Regions from separate parts of the Homo sapiens genome. Here regions 1, 2, 3, 4, 6 and 7 are each linked to region 5. Evidence: promoter capture Hi-C in 16 types of primary human blood cells and fetal thymus (Javierre and others, 2016). All regions are on one chromosome and are shown on one strand. The core of a region is centred on a gene start or on the middle of the fragment in contact, and the rest is flanking DNA. Distances in the headings are between cores, read along the strand shown.

Evidence for each region. The method cuts DNA at HindIII sites, captures the fragments that hold promoters and counts their contacts. A CHiCAGO score of 5 or more calls a contact.
Region 1: a contact is called between a fragment that was not itself captured here and the fragment with the promoter of LINC02332 in region 5, in 4 of 17 cell types (non-activated CD4 T cells, naive CD4 T cells, activated CD4 T cells and 1 more). The highest score is 8.9, in non-activated CD4 T cells.
Region 2: a fragment that was not itself captured here is called in contact with the fragment with the promoter of LINC02332 in region 5 in 1 of 17 cell types (naive CD8 T cells); the score reaches 6.7 in naive CD8 T cells.
Region 3: a contact is called between a fragment that was not itself captured here and the fragment with the promoter of LINC02332 in region 5, in 7 of 17 cell types (total CD8 T cells, naive CD8 T cells, non-activated CD4 T cells and 4 more). The highest score is 10.6, in total CD8 T cells.
Region 4: a contact is called between a fragment that was not itself captured here and the fragment with the promoter of LINC02332 in region 5, in 3 of 17 cell types (total CD4 T cells, non-activated CD4 T cells and naive CD4 T cells). The highest score is 6.4, in total CD4 T cells.
Region 6: a fragment that was not itself captured here is called in contact with the fragment with the promoter of LINC02332 in region 5 in 5 of 17 cell types (naive CD8 T cells, total CD4 T cells, non-activated CD4 T cells and 2 more); the score reaches 10.2 in naive CD8 T cells.
Region 7: a fragment that was not itself captured here is called in contact with the fragment with the promoter of LINC02332 in region 5 in 6 of 17 cell types (non-activated CD4 T cells, total CD4 T cells, naive CD8 T cells and 3 more); the score reaches 11.0 in non-activated CD4 T cells.

What each region holds. Positions count from the first base shown.
Region 1 is chr14:21,872,241-21,876,093 of GRCh38, forward strand. It overlaps TRA. Among named protein-coding and RNA genes, the nearest start is that of OR4E1, 200 kb to the left of the region's middle. The HindIII fragment of the contact is 5,738 bases long and covers 1-3,853 here.
Region 2 is chr14:21,636,116-21,639,710 of GRCh38, forward strand. It overlaps TRA. Among named protein-coding and RNA genes, the nearest start is that of OR10G2, 3.0 kb to the left of the region's middle. The HindIII fragment of the contact is 5,745 bases long and covers 1-3,595 here.
Region 3 is chr14:21,823,244-21,827,045 of GRCh38, forward strand. It overlaps TRA and TRAV10. Among named protein-coding and RNA genes, the nearest start is that of OR4E1, 150 kb to the left of the region's middle. The HindIII fragment of the contact is 634 bases long and covers 1,406-2,039 here.
Region 4 is chr14:21,704,975-21,708,688 of GRCh38, forward strand. It overlaps TRA. Among named protein-coding and RNA genes, the nearest start is that of OR4E1, 33 kb to the left of the region's middle. RefSeq lists enhancers at 1-100, 3,442-3,611. The HindIII fragment of the contact is 3,331 bases long and covers 382-3,712 here.
Region 5 is chr14:22,555,031-22,558,812 of GRCh38, forward strand. LINC02332 (long intergenic non-protein coding RNA 2332) reads right to left here and starts at 2,032. Exons shown (of 3, transcript NR_146543.1): 1 at 1,921-2,032; 2 at 1,762-1,823; 3 at 1,281-1,492. LOC105370399 (a long non-coding RNA gene) reads left to right here and starts at 1,536. Exons shown (of 2, transcript XR_007064066.1): 1 at 1,536-2,536; 2 at 3,697-3,782. RefSeq lists enhancers at 368-497, 1,078-1,177, 1,228-1,567, 2,428-2,637 and a silencer at 1,678-1,727. The HindIII fragment of the contact is 9,123 bases long and covers 1-3,782 here.
Region 6 is chr14:21,722,202-21,726,037 of GRCh38, forward strand. It overlaps TRA and TRAV3. Among named protein-coding and RNA genes, the nearest start is that of OR4E1, 50 kb to the left of the region's middle. The HindIII fragment of the contact is 2,337 bases long and covers 387-2,723 here.
Region 7 is chr14:21,930,236-21,933,807 of GRCh38, forward strand. It overlaps TRA. Among named protein-coding and RNA genes, the nearest start is that of OR4E1, 260 kb to the left of the region's middle. The HindIII fragment of the contact is 4,495 bases long and covers 1-3,572 here.

The DNA.
Region 1 (3,853 bases), core at 1,324-3,823, 680 kb before region 5:
TCATGTGTTGTGTCTTCATTTATAGAGGATAAGGAGGTGATAAGAAAAGAGAAGTTCTGAGTGAGGGCAAAGCATTATATAACTTCCCGGAAAATTGTGTTCCCCTATATATAGATAATTTGAAGTGTCACATATTCAACTGTTTCCTTAGGACAGTATTCCAGTTCATATTCCATTTTTACACTTTTCATGGAATCTTATAGGTTTCAAAAAAGGCATGAACTTGCCACTTTCTGTGTTCTCCTAGAAAAGTTTTCCCCAACTATTTGTATAATATTGCAGCCAGTACATCCCTACTGTGATGGGCTGTCTCTGGAAGGTTGCTAAAACAAGTATTCACTGGAGATCATTTGGTCCCACCAGGCAGCCTTTCTGGCCTTGATATATCTTATCCTCACTGATCAAACAAATCAATAATTGATCCAAGATGTAGTTACTAAAATTTTCCATAGATTTTTCTGCATGTTCTGTAAGAGGTACTTGCATGAGGACGTTAGTCAGAAAGGCATGTTTAGCATGATTCTCTGCTCATGTATTTCTTCCTGGCTTCTATAGTGTCTTTCCTACTTTGGAACTTTGTCTTTCTTTGAGTAGTATCAATAATTCAAATAATTTTCGTATTTGGTGTCTATTTTATAGCGATACATGAGATGTATGAAAAGGTTAAGAAGGTTAAGAAATCTCATCATCTCCATAGTATTTGAGAGTTGTGAACTATGTTAAAACATATAGGCTATCACTGTATATATTTTTCATAATTGGACATAGCAAAGAGAGAGCCACAAATTCAGTTACTTTAATTTGTTTTGCTTCTTCTAAGGAATTAGATTTTATAATGGAGTCTGGAGCAGTAAATGCATTATAAACCTTGTGTTATTTCTTTTCAGTTTTGAAGATAAGACATTAAAAACAAAATTAATTCAGAATTAGGTATGAGACTGTCCAAAATATCTGTTCTGGGATGGACACTTCTTGAGTTACAGAAATGCAATCATAAGATTCATTGATTGAGAAGTGTAATGGAGTTAGACGCTATGAGGAGAAATTAATAATATTGTATAGTTAGTCCACCAACTGGTAAAAAAATGGTTGTTTTTACAGAGTAGATCATTTGTGCTGTATGTGGCATCATAAGATTTAATGGTGATTTCAGTGAAAGATCTGGAGATGCTTCAACAAATTTAGACATAGCTGAAATCATTTTAAGACAAGGAGGATAGGTTGTAATCATTATATTAAGAAATAGGCTATAATAGGCAATGGGTCTTTGTTGTTTTTAATGTAATTGAGTAATATCCCTAGGACATGGCCTTACTGCTAATATTCACAAAACGAAAGCCTTATCACAATCAATTTTCCTATAATAGTTTTTCCTTGGGAGACGTATGGAGACACCTAGGATTCATACCTTTCAGCAGTGGATGTACAGAATGTAATGGCTTGTTATGGCTCATTTGGGGTCCCAGATGACATAATAAAAATGCATAAATTCAAAGGTTTGATAACTTAATGATCAGAGTCTGGTGTCTAATATGGCCTGTATAAACAGAGCTGGGCTGTCTAAACTAACTTGAAAAAAGAAGAAAACTTTTAAGATAGGACTCAATGTCTGAGGGCTTCATTCTAAACTCTCAGAAAAAAGAGATTAGTTTTTTTCTGCGTAGAAAAGAGAAAGAGAGATTAGTTTTTTTCTACCGTTTGTTCCCCAGATAAGCAACTGGACAGACTTTGGGAATAGGACAAATATTGCTATATTAACATGTAGGTCCGATGATCTGCAGTGATTAGTGCAAACAGCTTTTCCTTCTTAGCATAATGTGATTAATTTCTACCTTAGGAGAAACAACAACATACATAGATGTGAGGATACATAATTGTTACATCTTCCGTTGCCTTCATTATTCATTACATGTAGTATTTTAAAGTAAGTGCCAACCTCTCAACCTCATTGCTCAGTTCCATCACAGATGCAATGACTGAACATAGCAATTGGCCGAATTATCAATTTCCCTTCTAACCTGACCATGTTTATTTTCATATTTAAGTTATTTATTATCAAATTAAGGGTGGGTAAGTGCAAAGGAAGTTTGCATTGGGTGAGGTTCTTAGCCAGTACATAGAGAAGTGTTAGATAACACAAACTAGCTTGCTACACCGGAAAACCTCCGTTTCCTATTCCAGGGCAGCAGCAGCAGCAGCAGCACATAGTCCAGTAATTCTTCTCTTACTTCATCAGACTCACCTCACAATGCAGAGCCCTGAATTTTAAGAAGAACAAAATATATTCTCTCTAGAGAAAGAACCAAACATGTTGCTCTCCAGCTGCCTGAGGGTGGTCACAGCTTCAATGTGGCTAGGTAGGGATGCCCCTGGTGGGAATGGTCTTCCTCTAAGACCCAAGGACTGGGAAATGTCTCATCAAAACTTTGGGACAGAAGAAGTAACAGGGTGTAAAAATAGAATTTCTTTGTTCCACATCACTCATCCCTAAACCTTTTGGTTCTTTGTTTTCTCCTTCAGAATCTGGTTTTGCTGAGAAGTAACTCAAATTAAACCATCAGTATTGGTGCATGAGAAGGAGGCTGTGACTCTGGACTGCAATTATGACACCAGTGCTGGAAGTTATAGTCCTTTCTGGCACAAGTAGCCCAGGAGTGGGGAGATGATTTTCCTTATTCATCAGGACTCACGATCAGCAATAAGCAATAGGTCACTACTCATTGCATTTGCAGAAGGCAAGCAAATCCATCAACTTGTCATCTCCACTTCACAACTGGAGAACTCAGTGATGTGTTTCTGTGCACTGAAAGAGGCTACAGTGAGAGAACTGTTGGAGTGAGGTACACAAAATCCCCAAGGGTCTGCTTGAGACATCCACTTGCTGGAGAGACCAAAGAAAGGATTCACCATCACAGACAGGAAGTGGCTATGGTTGTGACAGCACAGGTGTAGCATCGGGGGAAAACACTGTAAGAAAATACCTCTCTAGGCTTATAGACCATTTCCAGAATTATCATTCATCAAAAACATCCTAATCCCTGAGTCTTTGGTTTGAAGTTAGACACACCAAAATTTTGACCAATGATTGAGAGAAAGAACTGCCACAATAAGCAATTTGCCATCTGGCCACTAGATTGAGCTGGAAGAATTGGCTAAGGTAATTCAGAAACATATGACTGAAAGATGAATAAAAACAAATTCAACACTCTTTGTGAATTGTTGGATTTTCAGATCAGTTTATTCAATAAATGCTAGGTGTCTTCAAAAAGTTTATGGAAAAAAGAAATTGCGTATTATGAAAAACGGTGCATGGATTTCAAATTTTCTGGCACCAAAATAAACTTATACTAAGTTGTTATAACATATCTGAACAGGATTTAGTTTGAGGCACTAAGAAGGATAAGACATCAGTTTGAAAGGAGCCCCTATCAGAGCAACATGAATTCTGTTAAACTTGAGGCAAGAACAAACATCAAATTTATGGTGAAACTTGGGTGGAAGAATGGTGAAATCACTGATGCTTTATGAAAAATTTATAGGCTCAACACTCCAATAAAATCAGCCATCCTCTTGTCTGTCTGTTCTTAAACAAAATGGATAATTTGTTTAAGAATAGACAAGAGGATGCCGATGAAGCCCACAGTGGCAGACATTCCATAACAATTTGTGAAGAAAAAATTAACCATAAGTGCCCTAATCAAAAAGGACGGATGATTAACAGTGGAAACAATAGCCAACACTATAAATGTCTCAACTGGTTTAGCTCACACAATTCTGACTGAAAAGTTCAAGTTGAGCAAACTTTGTACTTGATGGGTGCCAAAACCACTATGCTCAGATCAGCTCCAGAAAA
Region 2 (3,595 bases), core at 910-3,409, 920 kb before region 5:
TGTTTCACTCTTTTTGTTAAATAGGTTGCTTGATAAAGACTTTTCGCTCTATATATGGTTTGAGATGCATTTATCTTTCATTTAACTACAAAATATCTTTGTAATGCAAATGACTACTTTCATAAAGCAATTAAAATGACAATAGATTATTATAAATAACATGTGAATATTAATAAGTTTAATCTCTATCGGAAATTCTCCAAAGAGATTTTATCTTAAGTATTCTGTGAAATAACTTAATTCATATGTTAACATTCAAGAGTTATTAGTAGTAATAATAATAATACTGAATATATCTGGCTCTTCGAAGTCTGGAAAATGTTAAACTTGTCCTTTGCCCACCAAGAACGAAGAAATATCAGATTTTTATTGCCTGAGTTTCAGGAGGACACTTTGATTTATTTGAAAATGGATGGGAAAACTAAATCTTATTTTTGTGGTTAGAATATAGAGAAAAGAGGCTGGGCGTGGTGGCTCACGTCTGTAATCCCAGCACTTTGGGAGGCCGAGGCAGGCAGATCATGAGGTCAAGAGATGGAGACCACCCTGACCAACATGGTGAAACCCTGTCTCTACTAAAAATACAAAAAAATTAGCTGGGTGTGGTGTCGGGCGCCTGTAGTCCCAGCTACTCGGGAGGCTGAGGCAGGAGAATCTCTTGAACCCGGGAGGCGGAAGTTGCAGTGAGTGGAGATCGCACCACTGCACTCCAGCCTGGTGACAGAGAGAGACTCTGTCTCAAAAAGAAAAAAAAAAAATGAATATAGAGCAAAGATAGAAAGAGTTGAGATTAAAATGGTGCATAAAATACTAATTATGGCCAGGCGCGGTGGCTCATGCCTGTAATCCCAGCACTTTGGGAGGCCAAGGTGGGTGGATCACGAGGTCAGGAGATTGAGACCATCCTGGCTAACACGGTGAAACCCCGTCTCTACTAAAAATACAAAAATTAGCTGGGTGTGGTGGTGGGCGCCTGTAGTCCCAGCTACTCGGGATGCTGAGGCAGGAGAATGGCGTGAACCCGGGAGGCGGAGGTTGCAGTGAGCCAAGATTGCGCCACTGCACTCCAGCCTGGGTCACAGAGCGAGACTCCATCTCTTAAAAAAATATATATACATATACATATATATATATATATATACTTATTATGAGCTAAAAGTAATTTTCTTTTCTTTCTTTTTTTTTGTGTGATTGAGTCTTGCTCTGTTGCCCAGGCTGGAGTACAGTGGCCTGATCTCGGCTCACTGCAACCTCTGCCTCCCAGATTCAAGTGATTCTCCTGCCTCAGCCTCCCAAGTAGCTGCGACTACAGGTGCGCGCCACCACGCCCAGCTAATTTTTGTATTTTTGGTAGAGAGGGAGTTTCACCATATTGGCCAGGCTGGTCTTGAACTCCTGACCTCATGATCCACCCACCTTGGCCTCCCAAAGTGCTGGGATTATAGGCGTGAGCCACCGCGCCCAGCTGAGCTAAAGTAATTTTCTTTGCCAATACAGGAATATAAACTAGTAGGCTTCTACTTAGGCAAATAATATATTCATGAAATGTTTTATGAAAATCCATTTTTATATTTAAAATCAGATAGAACTGTACCACTGGGGCAATTATTTGAAGGACTTCCATGATGCATACTTTCGTATAGTGAAAAGTTTATCCCTAATTTATCTACTTTGCCGGTCTGATTTTCCCCCTTTTGTTGTGCCTAAGTCTGGTTTCATTTCTCCCAGGCTCCCTGTTGAAAGAAAGCTCTTTTTACCCCTCTAGGTTCTGGGTTCCCTGCCTGGGAGGAGGCAGGAAACTGAGATGGGTTATAGCTGGTCGGTTTGAGGACAGGATACCTTTCCAGGCAGACTTGGTAAAGAACAGTGGTTTTAGCTTGGTGTTTGGTATTCAGAGGCTGCAGAGGAAGATAGCTTAGACTTCCAGAAGGTAGATTTTTGGAGAAACAAAGAGTGTGTTTACAGAAGGATTGGCTTTCTTGGCAAGAGAGGTGAACAGTCTGGGACCACCTTAGAGGAGACAAAAGAAAGGCCGGGCATGGTGGCTCATGCCTGTAATCCCAGCACTTTGGGAGGATGAGGCTGGAGAATCGCTTGGGCCCAGAAGTTTGAGACCAGCCTAGGCAACATAGTGGGACCCTGTCTGTAAAAAAAATTTTAAAAATTAGCCAGGTATAATGGTGGGCACCTGTAGTCCTAATTTCTCAGGAGGCTGAGACAGGAGGATCACTGGAGCCTGGAAGGTCAAGGCTGCAGTGAGCCATGATGGTGCCACTGTACTCCTTCCTGGGTGACAGGTTGAGACCTTGTCTAAAAAAAAAAAAAAAAAAAAGACAAATGTAGAGGCCGTATTTGTGTATCCTCTTTTCCCCCTCCCTTATCTTCCAGATTTGTGTCATTTTATTTTAGGTCTGTTCCTCTTTTTTAGCTTTTGAAACTTATGATATTTAAGATAAGGAAAGTTAAATACAATTTTAGTATATCTACCCTAGCTAATTAGATAACCAAAATATTCTAAAATTCCCCAAGTTTTAGACTGTATTGGATATTCTCCAATTAGATAGGTCAGAATTTAAATAATCAAAACACATGAAAATAACAAAAAGTTAAAGTTCAATATAAAAAGCATCTGAAAATAAGAGCCCAGTGACATCAGAGAATAAACAGCATATTTTTACAAAGCAATTATCCTGGAAACTCTAAGAAGAGACTTTGGGAATGGGGTGAAAGAGTAGCACTGAGAAGGTAAGGACAGGGAGGGTCAAGAACACCTTCAAGGGACCTCTATGGCATTATGGGATCACAGGATAAGCTGCTTTCTATGCCCCTACTCTGCCCCAAATCAAGCTAGTTTGATATGTGAACACATTTCTTGCAGTGTATTTAGAGAGGTGCCGAGGAGGGCAAGCCTCTATCCAGCAATTTGAACCTAGATTTCTACAGTGACCTTTGGGATCTGGACTACTATGCAACGGTTATGAAATCTTGAAGATGAGGAGTGAAGGCTGGTCCAGCATTGCGTTGGACACATTATGATCAAAGGACTCCTGTTTACCCTTGTGACAAAACTCAACCCAATCTGCTTCCAAAAAGAAGTTTCACCTTCTGTCATCCTTTATTCAGAGTTAGACATCCTGGTAGAGCTAGGGCAGAGTAGAGGAAATGGATAGAATTTGAGGTGGCCTAGACATATTTTATCGAATTCACAAGAGTACATTCTTTCCTATTACCGGGGGTTAAAAAAAACGAACTTGCTTTAGAAAAAGTACTTAGTGCCCTCTTCATTGGAGAAGGGGAAGGTTATGAATCCAGCCTTTCTTTGTGTTTGCACAATCACTGAAGAATATTCTTCAAGACCCCTATGACTTTATCACTGCCCAACTCTGCCCTTTATCACTGCCCTAATAAAAAGAGAATATGAAAAGAAAATAGTGTTGTAATGCTTTTTTTTGAGTCATTTTCTCAACACAAAAAGAGTTTCCCCAAGTTTGAAAAGAAGGAACTTAATTCTAGCCCGTTTGGGAAAGAGTTGAGGAAACGCATGGAGAAAAGAGACGGATTAAATTAACACTCGGACAAAATAACAGAAAGTCTT
Region 3 (3,802 bases), core at 473-2,972, 730 kb before region 5:
CCATGGAATACTATGCAGCCATAAAAAAGAATGAGTTCATGTCCTTTGCAGGGACATGGATGAAGCTGGAAGCTATCATTCTCAGCAAACTAACATAGGAATAGAAAATGAAAAACCAGCCAGTCACAGTGGCTCATGCCTATAATCCCAGCACTTTGGGAGGCCAAGGTGGGTGGATCACCTGAGGTCAGGAGTTCAAGACCAGCCTGGCCAACATGGTGAAACCCCATCTCTACTAAAAATACAAAAAATTAGCTGGGCGTGGTGGTGGGTGCCTGTAATCCTGGTTACTTGGGAGGCTGAGGTAGGAGAATCACTTGAACCTGGGAGGTGGAGGTTGCAGTGAGCCGAGGTCATGCCATTGCACTCCAGCCTGGGCAGCAAGAGCAAAACTCTGTTTAAAAAAAGAAAAAAAGAAAAGAAAACTGAACACCGCATTTTCTCATTCACAAGTGGGAGGTAAAAAATGAGAACACATGAACACAGGGAGGGAACATCACACACCGGAGCCAGTCGGGGGTTAGGGGGAGAGCAGAGGGAGAGCATTAGGACAAATACCTAATGCATGTGGGGCTTAAAACCTGGATGATGGGTTGATAAGTACGGCAAACCACCATGGCACATGTATACCTATGTAACAAACCTGCACGTTCTGCACAAGTATCCCAGAACTTAAAAAAAAAAAAAGTAATCTCATTGTAAAGGAAAGCAGCTGTTCACAAGAGCATATAAAACTAACAATGGATCTATATTATTTAGGTTCACGCAGATTTAAGACTGTGATGTCTACATGCAACTCTCTGTATATATCTATCTGTATTGATAGAGATATGTACATATCTATATCTGTATCTATCTATCTATATAGAGAGATTTATTTTAAGGAATAGTTTCACACAATTTTAGGGGCTGGGAAGTCCAACTTCTGCAGGGCAGGTCGTCAGGCTGGGCAACCTGGGAATCACTGATTTTGCAGTTTGAGTTTGAAGACAAGTCTGGAGGCATAATTTCTTCTTCTTTGGAGAGCCTAAGTGTTTTTCCCTTAAGACCTTCAACTGATTGAATGAGGTCCATTCACATTATGCAGAAAATCTGCATTACTCAAAGTCTACTGATTCAAATATTAATCTCATCTAAAAACACCTTCACAGTGACATCTAGACTGATGTTGGACCAAATATCTGGGTACTGGGGCCTATCTCAGTGGATGCATAAAATTAGCCATCACACGGTCTTTACCTCTAGCAAATCTTTTCCAAAAGCCTACTTTGCTTATACAACTATAATATACCAACTTTCTTTTTATTGTTTCTTGTATAACTATTTCCATTCTTTCAACTTCTCTGAGCTTTAAATTTCAAACTTAAAATAAATCCTCATATATCTACACTCTCAACTGTTCATAAGCTTCTTATTTCACTGAGAAAATAGAAACAATCAGAAGAGAATTTTCAAAAACTTCAACACTTACCAGTCACTTGCATCTATGCTCAAATACTCTGTCTTTCCTCTCATTAGAATGTCATCCCCTGTGTGCAGGGACTTTGCTTATTCTCAGCACTTATCATCATACCTGAAAATGTAGGCATTTGAAAAATAATTGTTGAATTAAAAATGAATAATAAAAATAACTCTGTCATTACCAGAACAAAACTATCATTTATTCATTCCCTCAATAAAAATTTATTATATGCCTATTTATTGACAGGCCTTATTCTAGCAACTGACAATGTAGCAGAGAATAGAACAGATAAAAGTCCCTATCCTAAGGGAGCTTATATTTCAGTTGAAGGCTAAGTTCATGTTAGCCACTACAATAAGCCTTTACATGAATCATCTCTTCAATCTTTCAAAAATTGTTAGGTAAGTGTTATCATACCTATTTTCAGATGAGAAAGCTAAGGCTCAACTCTCCTATTTAATATCACATAGAGCCAGAATGCAGAGCTTCAAATATATGTCTAAATTACTAATCTACTGTGCTGATATAGACATGAAGGGCTTTATCCTCTATATCATGCTGCAAATAGGAGGAAAAAAGCTTGATCAAAAGTTCTAAGCAATTGTAGCTCTGACCCCAAGAGGGCAGTATTTGCATTCGCCCCGCCTGCAGGTCTGAATGTGTAGTATGTGTAACATAGCGAAGCCTGGTCTCTGATTGGCTAGGGATACCCTCTGAGAAACCCTTTGGTTAGTGTTAAAAAAAAAGAGAAGATGTTGAATACACAAGTCAACTTCTGGGAGCAGATCTCTGCAGAATAAAAATGAAAAAGCATCTGACGACCTTCTTGGTGATTTTGTGGCTTTATTTTTATAGTAAGTTAGTGGAGAGTTTTAGCAAAGTTAACATAGTAAGTCAAGGGAATATTTTCTTAGGATTTGGGGTGAAGATGTAGTCCACTGGGATAGGAGGAAGGGAGAAAATGGGACCATTTTCTGTTTCACTTGGGATTCATTGTGGGGAGTAAGGAAGGGATGCAAATTAGACAGTATTAATACTGGATGATGGATCTCTTGAATCTCACTTTTCTTTCTGAATAGGGGGGAATGGCAAAAACCAAGTGGAGCAGAGTCCTCAGTCCCTGATCATCCTGGAGGGAAAGAACTGCACTCTTCAATGCAATTATACAGTGAGCCCCTTCAGCAACTTAAGGTGGTATAAGCAAGATACGGGGAGAGGTCCTGTTTCCCTGACAATCATGACTTTCAGTGAGAACACAAAGTCGAACGGAAGATATACAGCAACTCTGGATGCAGACACAAAGCAAAGCTCTCTGCACATCACAGCCTCCCAGCTCAGCGATTCAGCCTCCTACATCTGTGTGGTGAGCGCACTGTGCTCCACAGGCACTTGAAGCCAGTATGCAAACCTGCACCTGGAGGTTATCAAGGAGGCATAGGAGTTAGAGTAGACCGTTATTTTTTATGCAGAATATGATTTCACTAGTGAATATTTATCTCTCCGACATGATTTGATTTGAGCTTGAGCCTAAAGTTCTACTTAGGCTCAAGTAGAATACATGTCCTCAAGCGAGGATAAAGACATTCTCACTCAACACACAAAGTTAATTGCTACATCTGGGTGTTCCCAAGGGCAAGACAGTCTGTCATGCTGTGTTACTATTGCTGAAGTAGATGACAGTGTTGTTTGGAAGGGAGAGACTAGCTTGGTTTTTGATCTGGACACCTACCAGCAGAATGTCAACTAAGTGAAAGAGCAACAAGTTTATGTGGCTGATGGAAATTTTTTTTTTTTTTTTTTTTTTTTTTTGAGATGGAGTCTCACTCAGTCGCCCAGGCTGGAGTGCAGTGGCGTGATTTCGGCTCACTGCAAGCTCCACCTCCCGGGTTCATGCCATTCTCCTGCTTCAGCCTCCTGAGTAGCTGGGACTACAGGCGCCCACCACCACGCCCGGCTAATTTTTTTGTATTTTTAGTAGAGATGGGGTTTCACCGTGTTAGCCAGGATGGTCTCGATCTCCTGACCTCGTGATCCACCCATCTTGGCCTCCCAAAGTGCTGGGATTACAGGCGTGAGCCACTGCTCCTGGCCGGAAATATCTTGAGAAGTTTCCTTCCCCTGAAAGACATTCAGTTGTCATTTCATGGCTATTCAAGTTCTCAGAAAGCATCCTGTGAGAATAAATCTGCTCTTCCCATTTAGCTATGCTCCAGATCAAGGCTTTTGTCCAGGTGCTGCATCAACTCTTTATTATCTTCCATCACTGCTCCTTTAGAGGACACTGGAAGGCCAGGGGATCCTGGCAGACACAGTCACTCTCAGGCAGCAGAACAACTGTGC
Region 4 (3,714 bases), core at 797-3,296, 850 kb before region 5:
ATAGTTCTCCTGGGGTTGGACAGTGCACACCTGCATGACTATAGGCAAAACCATGTCAGATGAGATGTTTATTTAAAAATAAATGGCTCACCTACTTCCCTAAAATTTTTCTTTGAAATGACTACCAAAGATACAGGTAGGACTGATTGAGAAAAGGCAGAAATTGAAGGTCTGAAAAGAGAGAAAAGTCAAGAAAGAAGAATAAAAAGATGTAGTCTGGGAAGTATTAGGCAAATTAGGCTTGAGCAATATTATGAAAGTTTTCAGCATTGTTCCCTTATAATTGCAAAATGGGAAGTATTGTCACCTCTTTCATTTTTTGGAAGAGTTTGTGAAGGATTGGGGCTAATTCTTTAAACATTTGATGCAATTCACTAGTGAAGCTTCCTGGGCCTGGATTTAACTTTGTGGAATACTTTTTGTTTACTTAATTGATCTTGTTATAGATCTGTTCGGATTTTCTATTTCTTCTTGAGTCAGTTCTGGTAGTTTACGTCTTTCTAGGCATTTGTCTTTCTCATCTAGGTTATCCAATTTGTTGGCATATGCCATTGTTGTTCATAGCATTCCCTTATAATCATTTTTATTTCTGTAAAATTTGTAATGTTTCTATTCCTGATTTTAGTCATTTCAGTGTTTTCTCTTTTTTTTTTTCTTGGTCAATTTAGCATAACAAAAAGTTTGTCAATTTTCTTGATCTTTTCAAAGAAGACATTTTTGGTTTAATTTGTTTTTCTCTATTGCTTTTATAATCTCTATTTCATTTATTTCCACTCTAGTCTTTATTATTTCCTTCCTTCTTCTTGCTTTAGGTTTAGTTTGTTCCTTTATTTCTAGTTTAAGGTAAACAGATGATTAATTTAATATTTTTTCTTTTTATAATTTGGTGTTTATAAATTTCCCTTTAAGCACTGCTTTAGCTGCATATCATAAGTTTTGTTATGGATTTTTTGGGTGTGTTTTTGTTTCCTTTAATCTCAAATTATTTTCATATTTCCCTTATGATTTCTTCTTTGATTCATTGTTTATTTAGGAGTGTGTTGTTTAATTTTCACATATTTGTGAATTTCCCAAATTTCCTTTTTAACTTTTAGTTTAATTTCATTATGGTAGAAGAAAATTATATAGTTTTAATCCTTTTAAATTTATTATTTTTTCCTTTTGGTTCTTTTGTTCTAATTTCTATCTCTTCATTGATATTCTATAGTTAGTGAGCCATAATTCTTATAGTCTCTTAGTTCCTTATTTGTGATTTTTTAAAGTTCTTTGAACATGTTTGAAATAGCTGATTTAAAGTCTTTGCCTCATAATTTCAATATCTAGCTTCCTCAAACTTTCCTTTTCTTTGTTTGACTTTTCTGTAGACCATATCTTCTTGTTTCTTTGCATGTTTTGTCTTTTTTTTTCATGGAAAACTTGTTATGGACATTTTATTTTACTTTTGCCTTGAAACATTTTATTTATTTATCTTTAAAATTTTATCATTTTTTGGGAGATATTTAACATTTTAAATAATATGGCAACTCTGGAAATGTCACTCACCCCCTCGGGGTTTGTTGCTGCTGCTTGTTATTGTGTTTGCTATCAGTTTGTTTACTGACTTTCCTGAATGCATTTGTAAAACCTGTATTCTTTGTCATGTGTGGCCATTAAAATCTCTGCTTGTTTAGCTTAATGGTCAGCTAATGATTGGATAGAGATTTCCTTAAATGTCTGGAATCAGTAGGTCTCTTATCCTTCACTGATGGGCTTTGTGCATGTGTTTCACCAGACCTTCAATATTTAGCCTGGCAGTTTGCAACTCTGCCTTAGCCTTCACTTCTTGCTCTCACAGAGCTTCAAGGTCAGTCTTAGGTGAGATATTAGGTACTTCTTAGATCTTTCCTAGGTCTTCAAGTGGCCTTTGGCGTGTATACAGCCTTCTGTGTGCTTCTGCATGGCTTTCTAGAGTTTCAGGAATATGTTGGAGTTTTTCAGAGCCCCCTATTGACATTTCGTTATTCAGCTTTTCCTTTAAGTGTATTGGTCAGTTTCTTGTTTGTTCCACCATTATCATCTCCTCAGGCAGTGGCAATGTTAAATAATTGGTGCTTATTGTTTTCCACCTCCTCCCCTCCAAAAAGGTTGTTTGCAATGAGCAAGTTCTGAATAAGATCAAATACAGGCAAGTCTTGCCAATGGAGGTTGCAGGAATATGCCAGACAGGTCAAATAATGACAGTGCTCTGAGAATAGTGTTTTTGGGGAGCTCCAAACCAGCTTTGCCCTGTCTAGTAGCTTCAAGGCTGCTGTTTCTCACCATTATGGCAGTGCTGTTGGTTTTCAAGGCTATTGGAGAGCTGGGGAGAAGAAGACGAGAACAGGACAAATTAAAACACCACAAAGTTGCTGCTCACTGTTCTTATCTAGATACAGCCAGTTTTCATGAGTAAATGCTTCTTGAATTATTGCAAGTCTTTTGTTAATTTCCAGAGTTCAGAAAAAAAATATTTATTTATTTATTCATTGTTTTTGAGATAGAGTCTCACTCTGTCACCCAGGCTGGAGTGCAGTGGCACGATCTCAGCTCACTGCAAACTCTATCTCCTGGGTTCAGGTGATTCTCATGCCTCAGCCTCCTGAGTAGCTGAAATTACAGGCGTGTGCCACCACGCCCGGCTAAATTTTGTATTTTTAGTAGAGACAGGGTTTCACCATGTTGCGAGGCTGGTCCCAAATTCCTGACCTTAAGTGATCTGCCTGCCTCAGCCTCCCAAAGTGCAGGGTTTATAGGCATGAGCCACTGTGCTCGGCCAGAATAAGTTATTTTGACAATTTTTTTGGCCAGTGTTTTCATTGCCTTTGTGAAGAGGTGGTTTTTGATTGTTATGCTGCTATTCTCACTGACTTCACTCATGCTATTCTGTCATGCCTCAATCAATCTTCATCACAGAGCACAGTCTCTTCATCATTTCCCACAAAATCCAGTTACAGCAAGTAATTATTTTTCAATAGACTTTATTGGAGTCTATTTGAATAATTGGCAGATAAAGTCCCATTTTTGTTGTATGTTACTTTTTGCCATCTTGGAGGGTTTTACCATTTTTTCCTTTACTTATCTCCCACCCTATCCCCAGATGCCTCTCCCTGTAATATTAAACCTATTCTTTCTTCTTTGATCCTACTTGGTGTTATTTTCTTCTCTAATCATTGTCCAAAACCAATGAAGTTCTCTTAGAACTTTGGAAGAATTCAAATGAATTAGAATTATATTTTGTTATAAATATTAAAGTCCCAGGTAAGTTGCATATAGATCATTTCAAAATGTCTTTTCAAGCTATCCAATGACATTTTGGCTGGCTGCTGCTTGTGAAACCACCAAGATCTCCATCCTCCTTCTTTCTTTCTTTGTCTCTCTCCACCTGAATTAATTTTTGTCCTTTCATAGATGAGACCTATTTTTTTTTGTAACTTGGAGAGAGGTGAGAAAATTTGGATCAGTAAAAAGGCTAAGGTGAAGAGATGAGAAAATATTGGAGGAGGAAGGCATACCATCTGTTCTCCACTTGTCTCCTCATACTGATTTTGAGCCCCCTGTAGAGACAGAATTTTAGAGATAGAAGTGGATTGAAATATGTTCAAAAGGAGCTTTGTGAGATGTACAGAAAATACACTCTCTTTTCCAGCACTAATGGACATTCTAAAAAATTGGGCATGTATTAGGCTACAAAGGAAG
Region 5 (3,782 bases), core at 782-3,281:
GCCTGGAGGGAATAGGCAGCTGAGGAGACCTGGAAAACACAGTCATGAAGAGACTGGCCATGAAGACCCACAGACCCTGCGAGCCAAGGCCTTGGGCTGCAGCTGCAGCTGCAGCTCTACCAGCCTGGACCCAACCTCAGGCCGACATCCCAGCAGGGAACATGTTACTAAGGCCAGTTGTAGAAGGGACTTCTCTGGACACATGCCCTACTCTCCCAAAAGACTTAAGCACAGGCCAGTCCCAAAGGCAGAAGAATGGACTAAATGAGCTCTTGTGGCCCCAGCCCTAAGATTCTAGAGGACTCTCTGAAACTTCACTTGAAGACTTGACCTCTGAGTGCAACTGGAGTCACAGCCACTCAGGAGAAAGGGCAGGCTATGCAAGCACGTGCTTCAGGAGCATCCTGGTGAGGTCTTCAGCTCTGACAGAGCAACCCCTCTGCTGCTACCCTCACTGGGGGCAGCCATCTGAGTCTTAAGGAGTTGCTTATTTTTTAGGTCCAAACATAAAATTCAACTCCCCTGGGATCACGTATACAGACAGGCCTATAGCACCTTATTATCAGGTACCATCCTAGTGTGGAAGTCCCCTGGCCTGTGTGCTCTGTGGGATGGGAATGTCCCTTGTCATCAATGTGTCCCCAGGAACTAGAACAGTGCCTGGCACACAACAGATGCCGTTAAATGAATAAGTGAATGACTCCTGCAGTTAGGCTCTGGGTGGGGGGAGCTGAGTGTGAGGAGTGGGGAGTACAGGAGAAAGGAAAGTGGGGATTAGTAGAGGAAGTGGTCAGGTGAGTCAATGCTTCACAGTTTTGCCAAGAGCTAAAGTAACTTGTCAAGAACTTCAGAACAAGGAAAGCCTGAGTGGTGGCCCCTTGCTCAGGGCAGCCCCCAGGCAGGCACACATCTATCCAACAAAGCCTGGAGGACAGGGACTGTGGTAAATCACGCAGGGTACCTGGGAGTCTGACCTCACTGTGTGACCACACTGAGGTCCAGAGCCAACAGTCACTTTATGTGGGTTCGCCTCAGTTTCTCCATGAGTCCTACTCTAAAACCCATCTACCTCCGTGAGCCATGTGTGGGAAGACGAGCTTCTGACTGGGATGAGTCTGGGGGAGCAAGCACATGGAGACCCAGTGCTGTCATTCTGGCTGCCGGAAGGCTGCAGGACCACCAGCGCCCTGCGTCTGTGTCAAGGCCACCTGGGCAACGCGGCGAGGGGTGGGGAGTGCAGGCCTCCTTTCACACAGAGACACACAGGCCTGAGGCCTCTCTGGGTAGCACACATAGAGCTATATTTTGCAATTAATAAACAGGTCAGACATTGAGTCAGTAGCCACAAGTAGAACAGGAAGTGGAAAAAGTCTCCCACTTCCCTCCAGGTGTTTGGGGGCTGGGGCGGTCCCCTCCCATTTCCATGACGTCATGGTTACCAAGAGGGGCAAGTAGGGCACCCTTTGAAGCTCTCCCGCAGAAGCCACATCCTCTGGAAAGAAGAGTTTAAAATACTGAGTTAGAGATAGCATCGCCCCAGGCCACGTGCCGAGGGGAGCAGGCTGGGCCGTTACACCACCCCCCAACCGCAGGTGCAGCAAGGCCAACATGCCAGGCTGGGAGGGGCTGCCGGCCCCTCGGTGACTTGCACCGGGCCCGCAAGCAGGCTGGGGAGGTGCTGCTGGCCCCACCGCTGAGCCGCCTCCCTCACCGCACCTCTGCTGCCCCTCCAAACCAGCCAAGATCAGACCTTGATCTCACCTGATTAAGCGCTTGCTTAGTACAGGGCAGACCCTCGAGACTTATGCTCAGGCCAGTGTCTCCTGGGAGGGAAGGAGGTGGGGAGGCCGTATTTGCCCCCACACAGAGCTAGGGCTGATTCTCTGAGGGACCCCCCCCCAATAGCACCTCCCCCCTTACCCTGATGCTTGTCCATTAGGTGATGGCCCTAATGGACGCCTTGATGGACACGTCCGGGACCCAGGGACCCGGAGACCAGGAATCTGCTGGTCTCAGGGAGCCGCAGAACCTGAAACCCAAAAATACCAGGCTTGATCGCCTGCTCTTCGGTAGTGTCGCCATCCACCCGCATGGGGGCAGCAGCGCTCCACCAAAAAGACCTCTTCTCCCTTTGTCTGTTAATTCTGGAGATAGAAAGCCCCCAAAGTTTAGGAAAAGCTCTTTTCCGAGGAAAATAAAAGGGCAGGTGACTTTTATCCCACAAGTCCCTGCCCTGTGCCCGTCACTGCGCTGGGCGCAAGGCCTGTGTCATCCTGTCACATCCCCCCCCAAAGGAGAGGAGGGCCTGGGGCCTGGGCCGGCAGCAGGGGGCGCTGTTCGTCCGGGATCGTCAGACCCGCTCCACCCGGAGCCCTGGAGGAAGTGCCCAGGGAGGGCTGGGGGCCCGGAGGAGGCCTTGGGTTCGGAATTAGGCTGGCTGGAGTCCGGGATCCACCACATCATACACTCGTGCCTTTGGCAGGTCACTAACCGCCCACCGCCTCAGTTTCCCGGTGGGACGAACTCTCTCTCACAGGTAGTTTAAGAACCAGGCTTTCTTTGGCATTGTATACCTGCCATGTGCCAGGCTGTGTCGTGCTCTGGGGATTCAGTCTCTGTGCAAACTATGACTCCATACAGATGAAGTCCAAGAACAGGCAAAACGCATCACAGGTGATAGAAATTAGGGCACTGTTTGCCTCTGGGGTAGAAGGATGGATTGAAAAGGGGCACGAGGAAACCTTCAGGGGTGGTGGAAATGTTCCATATCTTTATCTTGGGTGATGGCTATATATATATCAAATGCATCATTAGTGTATTTTCATGTAATTATGCCTCAAGAAAGTACTGCTCCCATTAAATACACACACACACACACACACACACACACACAGAGTTTCTGTCTTCAAGGAGTTAACAGTCCAGTGAGTAGTGGGTATGAAAGAGATGTGTTAATGGCTGCAATTGCAAGACAGAGGCTTTTGTTACTATATTCTCCTCAGGCAGGAGTCCTCAGGCAGGAGGCAGGAGAACCAGTTGTTTGTCCCTAAGCGTCACTGCCCCTCACTAGCCTTCTCTCCTGGGGCCTTTAATTTTTCTGAGTCCCCATGTGTTATTATTCACATAGAGATAAAAATACCTGCCCACCTATTCTCAGTGTTGTTGAAGGGATTGAAAGCAGTAATGGGTGTGGAATGCTTAGTAAACTGAAATCCCAGTGCAAATATGAAGTGGGAATGCATCAGAATGCCCAGGAAGACGAACCATGACCCGAACAAGATGGGCTGGGCCAGGTCAGATGGCACTGCCATACTGAGAAAAAAGTGGGCTGGCTGCGGCTTCACACAGCCCGGGAGAGCTCAGAACTCCCCAGGCCCTGCCGGTGCGCTGGTGTTTCTCATAGTATGTGGCCACCTCTCCAGTCACTTCGGCCCTAGGAGCTTCTTGTTACACCATGATTTTGTCACTACCTCCGCAGCTTCCCACCTCCTGCTTCCGGCTTCCAGAAGGAAGCGCGTGATGGAGGGGAAATGACAGGGCCAGGAGGCAGCGGTCAGGCTGGGCCGAGTTTCTGACAGAAGCCAACACTTCTGGCCCCACAGTGCTCACGGCCTCCCTGACTCCTCACCACATCACAGCTGAAAAGGCTCACGTCTTATCTCCCCTCTCAACCTCTGGGGGCTTCTCTGCTTTCAGAAGGAGCCCCTGGAGCCCCTGGCCGAACACATCTGAAAGCACGGAGCCAGACCTCTGCAGCGCCCTCCAGCGGGCAGGTTCTGCGG
Region 6 (3,836 bases), core at 305-2,804, 830 kb before region 5:
CTGAGATTAGGGTAATTTCATCTTCTCCCGTCCCTTTGGGCCTAGGAGTGGTGAAATCTTCTGGCTGTTATTAGCCCCAGGTGCTTCACCTTCCCTTGTAGTTTTCCCTAAATTTTGCACATACACTTAAAAATATTCTTTTTGTTAAGCTTTTTTTCAATGATTTTCTCGAGGCGATTGCCAGGACCCTCAAAAAGACAACACTAACACTCATTTTAGGCTTGAGGCAGAGAGAGAAGAAAGAGAAGAAATTCACTATATGTTTCCATTTATGACAAGTCTCTCTGGAACTTGAAGATTATTGTTTAAAGACAGTTTACCAATTCCAAAGAAAAACATTATTATATGGCTAAGTTTTCAATGATTAAATATGAGATCTTTAGCAAAGCTTTTAGAAAGAATTATGTTCCACTTTTTTTCTGATTCAAAGCAAAGAGATTTTTCATCCTTTCCTCAGAATATATAGTGAACATTATTTGGACACTATTCAAAAGAAACAGAAGGCAAATCAGAGGAACAACTTCTTTATATTGATACATGCTTTTTACATTAAAATTAAAATCTATCAAAGAATCACTCAGTTGCTATTGTTGCCTTTTTTTAGTATAAAACTTTAGCATGCCATCCCTTTCCAATGAACCCCTTTTCCCCATCATAATACATCAAGTTTCGTTAACCATACATTTTTTGCTGAATACGTACTTCATTTGAAGTCTGTTTTAAGTAGGCTCTGCATGTGGAAAGTACCTGTTTTGCAACCCCTTCTCAGAGTTTCATTTTTTTGTTTTATATGTACTGTTTAATATGACAAATGCTCCAAAAATATTTATAACACCTATTCGTACTTTTCTCACTCTAAAAATGTTTAAAGAGAAGATTCAAGTTTCTTTTTGCCCTAAAGATCATTATGGGATGGGCTCCTAATAGGCCCAACGTGGAGAAAATTCTGAGTTATTTTTGGTCAAAGAGGTTTACACAGAAGCCAGCTCTGAATTACTTCTAACGAGAAGAGCAAGGCTCCTGTTTTCGCCTGTCATTTATCTTCTCTTGCCTTACTCTTTTCTCCTATTTTGCTTTTTCTTATCTCTCACTTTAAATTTTTCTCTCCCTCTTGATGCAAAGCTATATTTTCCTTTCTTTTTCTGTGCATTTTCCCATCCTATTTCCCTTCTTTCTGTCTCTACATTATCTTAAGAGAGCACAAATCATTTACAGCTTGATCCACTCAGCCTGAATCTTTTCCACTTTGATTCACAAACTTCTATTTCTTCTCCTTTGAACCCCTAATTTGCTCCCTATGTCCCTCATGGAGCGTGTAACCATCCAAAGGTTGGCCCAGGGATAAGGCCAGGAAGCACCAGCTGCTTGACAGTAAAGTCGCTGGTCCTACGTGTGGGCTCTAGGGGGCGATGCAGTGTAAGGTCTGTCCTGGGCATAGGCGGAGCGGCAGTCTTGCTCCTCACAGAGCTTTGAGGAGCTGGATCAAAATTGTGCTCCACAGAGAGAAGATACCGGTGTCGGGAAGCACCAGTGCCCTGAGGAAGGGCCATTTCCAAAAGCCCTGTGCTGACACAGGGTTGCTGGTTCCTCTTCAAGAGCCCACTCTCTGGGGTGGGGCCATATCTCCAGCAGAGGTGGGCTGGAAAGGACCCCCCCAATCCCGCCCGCCGTGAGCTTAGCTGGAGCCATGGCCTCTGCACCCATCTCGATGCTTGCGATGCTCTTCACATTGAGTGAGTAATATCCCCTTCCCATTTTCCACTCGCATGATCCACTTACATGCTCTCCAGCAGCTTCACTGATGCAGCATGATTAATTTACAGGTGGGCTGAGAGCTCAGTCAGTGGCTCAGCCGGAAGATCAGGTCAACGTTGCTGAAGGGAATCCTCTGACTGTGAAATGCACCTATTCAGTCTCTGGAAACCCTTATCTTTTTTGGTATGTTCAATACCCCAACCGAGGCCTCCAGTTCCTTCTGAAATACATCACAGGGGATAACCTGGTTAAAGGCAGCTATGGCTTTGAAGCTGAATTTAACAAGAGCCAAACCTCCTTCCACCTGAAGAAACCATCTGCCCTTGTGAGCGACTCCGCTTTGTACTTCTGTGCTGTGAGAGACACACACTGATAGGGGCTGCAGGGGGAGCAGAACACAAACTCTTGAGTCTGGTAAAGCCCATTTTCTTGAAGTCTTTGTTCCTTCACATGAGAACGGTGTGCTTCCAGGATATGTCACTTATTATGTTAAACTACAATTTAAAACCATAGAATTTGCTCATTCAGCAAGTGTTTATTGAGTCCTGATGTGCCAGGTACTGGGCAAAGCACCGGTCATAAAAAGGTGAAAGAAGTGTAAAACAAATAGAAAAAAACATAGGGGAAAATTACCATGACATTGGTCTGGGCAAGAAGTTCCTTCCTTCCTTCCTTCCTTCCTTCCTTCCTTCCTTCCTTCCTTCCTTCCTCCCTCCTTCCCTCCCTGCCTCTCTCTCTTTCTTTCTTTCTGAAAAGGGGTTTATTTTCAACAGACATTTCTTTTTATACCGAGGTGAAATGTCATCATCATAATAATTTTGCAATGTTACATACCCTGTTGAGACCATTAAAAAATTAGGTTCATGGTATACACGTCCAAGTTTGTTACAAAAGCATATTGTGTGATGCTGTGGTTTGGGCATCTATTGATCCTGCCACCCGAAGAGTGAACATAGTACCCAGGAGAAAGCTTTTCATCTCTTGTGAGCAAGGAATTTTTGGATATGACCCCAAAAGCACAGGCAACAAAAGCAAAAATAGACAAATGGGGCTATATTAAACTAAAAAGCTTCTGCACAGCAAAAGAAACAATAAATAGAGTGAAGGGAAAGCCTATGGAATGGGAGGAAATATTTGCAAACTCTACATCTGATAAGGGGTTAATATTCAAAATGTTTAAGAAGCTCACATACCAAAAACATCCAAATAACCTGATTAAAAAATAGGCCAAGGAACTGAATAGTCGTTTCTCAAATGAAGGCATAAAAATGGCCAAGAGGTATATAAAAAATGCTCAACATCATTAATTATCAGGAACGTGCAATTAAGACCACCATTAGATATCACCTCACAACCTATTAGGTTGGCTATTATCAAAAAGACAAAAGATAACAACCATTGTTGAGAAGGTGAAGAGAAGGGAACTCTTCCACACTGCTGGCAAGAACGTAAATTCCATAATGTGCAACCATTATGGAAAACAGTAGGGAGGTTTCTCAAAACACCAAAAATAGAACTACTGTATGATCCAGCAGTCTCACTATTGGGCATATATCCAAAGAAAATGAAATCAGTATGTTAAAGAGATATCTGCACTCTCATGTTTATTGCAGCACTATTCACAATAACCAAGATATGGAATCAATCTAAGTATCTATACTTAGATGAATGGATAAAGAAAACATGGCATATAAACACAATAAAATACTATTCAGTCTTATAAAAGGAAGAAATCCTGCCATTTGTGACAACACAATTGAGCCTGGAGGACATTATGTCAAGTGAAATAAGCCAGGCACAGAAAGACAAATACCACATAATCTCACTTATTTGTGTAATAAAAAGGTTGAATTTATCGAAGCAGAATAGAATTGTGGTTACCAGAGGCTTGTGAGGGGAATGGAAAGGGATTGGAGAGATGTTGGTTAAAGGACACAAAATTTTAATTAGATAGGAAGAATAAGTTCAAGATATCTACTGCAATGGTGACTATAGCTAATAATAATGTATTTGCAACAGAATTTTTTTTTTTTTTTTGAGACAGAGTCTCACTCTGTTGCCCAGGCTGGAGTGCAGTGGAG
Region 7 (3,572 bases), core at 895-3,394, 620 kb before region 5:
AATATGTTTAAAAATTTTTAAAATTATTTTTAATTGTGGAAAAATATATATAACATAAATTTTGCCATGTTAACCATTTACAAATGGACACTTCAGTAGTGTTAAGTACATTCCTTTGTTGTGCAACCATCACTACCATCCATCTTGAGAACTCTTTTCATTTTGGAAACCTGAAACTCTGTGACTACTAAACAATAGCTCTCTATTTTCTTCTCCACCTAATCCCTAGAAACCAGCCTTCCTTTCTGTCTTTATAAGTTTGACTACTCTAGGTACTTTGTATAACTAGAGTCATACAATTTTTTTTTGTGACTGCCTTATTTCACTTAGCGTAATGTCCTCAAAGTTCATTCATGTCATAGTATGAAGCAGGCTTTCAGAATTTCCTTCCTTTATAAGGCTGCATATTATTCAATTGTGTGTACATACCCTATTTTGTTAAACTATTTATCTATCAATGGAAATTTGAGCTGTTTCTATCTTTTGGCTATTGTGAATAAGCTGCTCTCAACAAGAGTATGCAAACGTCTCAATATTTGGGGTATATCCCCCAATTCTTTCAACTTTAGAAGTGATATACCCAGAAGTGCAATTGCTGAATCACATAATAATTCTATTTTTAATTTTTTAAAGAACTGCCAAACTGGTTTCCACAGTGGCTGCTGTACCATTTTACATTTTCACCAACAGGACACAGGTGTTTTGATTTCTCCACATTTCATCAGCACTTCTTTTACTATCATTATTTTTGATATGAATAGTAGCCATCCTAATGGGCATGAAGTAGTATGTCATTATGATTTTTATTTGCATTTCCCTAATAATTCGTGATGATGAGTATCTTTTCCTGTGCTTATTGGCCAATTGTATATCTTCCTTGGAAAAATGCCTATTCAACTACTTTGCCCATTTTGAAATGGGGTGTCTGTCTTTCTCTCTCTCTCTTTCTCTCTTTCTTTCTTTCAAGATGGTGTTTCACCATGTTGCCCAGGCTGGTTTTGAACTCCCGAGCTAAAGCAATTCACCTACCTCGGCCTCCAAAGTCCTGGGATTACAGATGTGAGCCACCGCGCCTGGCCTGGGTTGTCTTTTTTTTCTGCTGAGTTGTAAGAGTTCTTTATATATTCTGGATATTGATCTTTTGTCGGATATATGATTTGATATTTTTTTTTCCATTCCATGGGTTGTTTATCCACTCTGTCACTCCATTAATTGTGCCCTTTGATGCACAGTAGTTTTTAATTTTGATGTAGTCAAGTTTATCTAAGTTTTCTTTTGCATCCTATGCTTTTGGTATTATAGCCAAGAAATTATTGCCAATTCCATGCTTTCTGAAGGCTGAAAAAAAAGAAAAAAAGAAAAAGAAATTATTGCCAAATCTAAATCGCGATGCTTTTCCTGTAAGATAAGAGTGCAGTTTCACTCTTTTGCATGTGGATATCCAGTTTTTCCCAACACTGTTTGTTGAAAAGACTTTCCTTTCACCCTTAAACAGTCTTAGGACCCTTTCCTAAAATAATTTGGTTGTAAATGTGAAGGTTTAATTTTGGGCTCTCTATTGTATTGCATTGGTCTATATGACTGTCATTATGCAAGCACCACACAGCTTTTGCTATATTACTGTAGCTTTGTAATCAGCTTTGAAATCAGGAAGTGTTAGACCTTCCAAACTTGTTCCTTTTCAAGATTATTTTGGCTATTTGGGGTTTCACAAGCTGCCATATGAACTTTTGGATGGATTTTTCTATTACTGCAAAAACACTATTGGGATTTTGATAGGGATTGAATTGAATCTGTAGATTGCTTTTGGTAGCATCGACATTTTAATGATGTTAAATTCTCCAATCCATAAATATCAGATGTCTTTCAACTTATTTGTGCCTTATTTAATTTATTTCAGCAACATTTTTGTTTTCATTGTGCAAGTCTTTAGCATTGTTGTTTAAGTTTATTCCTAAGTATTTTATTCTTTTTGATGCTATTGCAAATGGAATTATTTTCTTAATTTCCAAAGTGTTCATTGTTAGTTTATAGAAATGCAATTGATTTTTGTGTGCTGTTTCTGTATCCTTCAAGTTTGTTGAATTCATTTATTAGTTCTAACTACAAGCATATTTAATGGTGGAATTTCAGGTGTTGTGACAGCAGATTGGAGAACAGGACATTTGTCTCATGTCCCTCAGGATAACTCATGTAGGCTGCAAAACTTCAAGCATACATAGAAGCATCAACTTCATAATGTAATCATTTTATATCTTTAATACATCAGGCCCTTCAAAATTTAGTTTAAATGTTGAGAAGTCAAAGAATGATGTCCTTCTAAGAATAAATATTCTAACACATGATGATGTGCTGAACAAGATGAAGAATTTGTATTTGGATACATATTTTTAAAGCAATGTTTAGTTAGTAATTGAAAATACTAAACCAGGAGAAAATAATGTGCACTCTGGTTTCCATACTAGAGAGATATAGAAGCAGAAAGTTTTACCTCAGTCCACAGATCTAGTAAATAAACATCCAACACTTAAACTTGGGTCATTTGACTCCAATTGATGAATTTTCAGCAAACAATGAAATATAAAAGTAAGCCAATTCAATATACAACTCCAGAAGTTATAAAATTAACAGTAAAATAAAATGGTTGAGAGTAGATTGAAGGAATTAAAAATAAAAGCAAGAAATTAATGGCTCAAAGGAAAATAACAAAATCAATGATAAAACCACAACATGATATTTTGAAAATAATTACAATACTAACATGATCCAGAAAAAAAAAGTGAGAAGGGACAAATGCATGCACAAAAAAAAACAACATAATTAAGTTGAATTTATTTTGGGAATGTAAAGATGATTTAATACTTGAAAATCTATTAATATAATGCTTGAAATTAACAAACTTTAAGAAGGCCAAAGATGTTCTAATGCCTGGTTTGGTGGATTGTTTCATTTGGATCTAGGATGATTCACTGTACCTGTGCATTTGTGCAAGCTCATTTAATTTGGTTGGCTCTTAAAAATATTCGGATTCTTTCTCTTAATTTGACCCCAATTATAGATATAGTGTTATTGTTCTTAAATTTCTTGTTGCATTTAGATTATTTCTATGAAGAAAGGGGAAAATGATAAATTTATTCAATCATATTTATGACAAAGTTTTGGCTTCCATATTATTGTTTTTGTATTTTTCTTTTATTGTGAAGTGTACCAAGTTTTATTTTAGAAATTGCTGGACCAGTAAATATTGTTCAAGTTGATGGGTTGTATAGACTTCAGATTTTTGGAATGTTCTTGAAAATTATTCCCATTTATGTCCTTAAACCTTGCATAATCTTGTGAAATAATGCTTCATAACAATGACTGACTGTGCACAGATTAAACAATGCTTTAAATAATGTTAGTCATTAGGAAGAATTAAGCTATGATCCTGTATGTGAGAAATTTTCATACTGGTTAATTTGAACAACTATGCTTTAGACTCCTTTATCACAAGCAAGTTTCCAGGAACAGAAAGAGAGTGGTCACTGGCCATGAATAAAGTTCCAGTACTCTGGTGGTTCACAGAAGTTTAG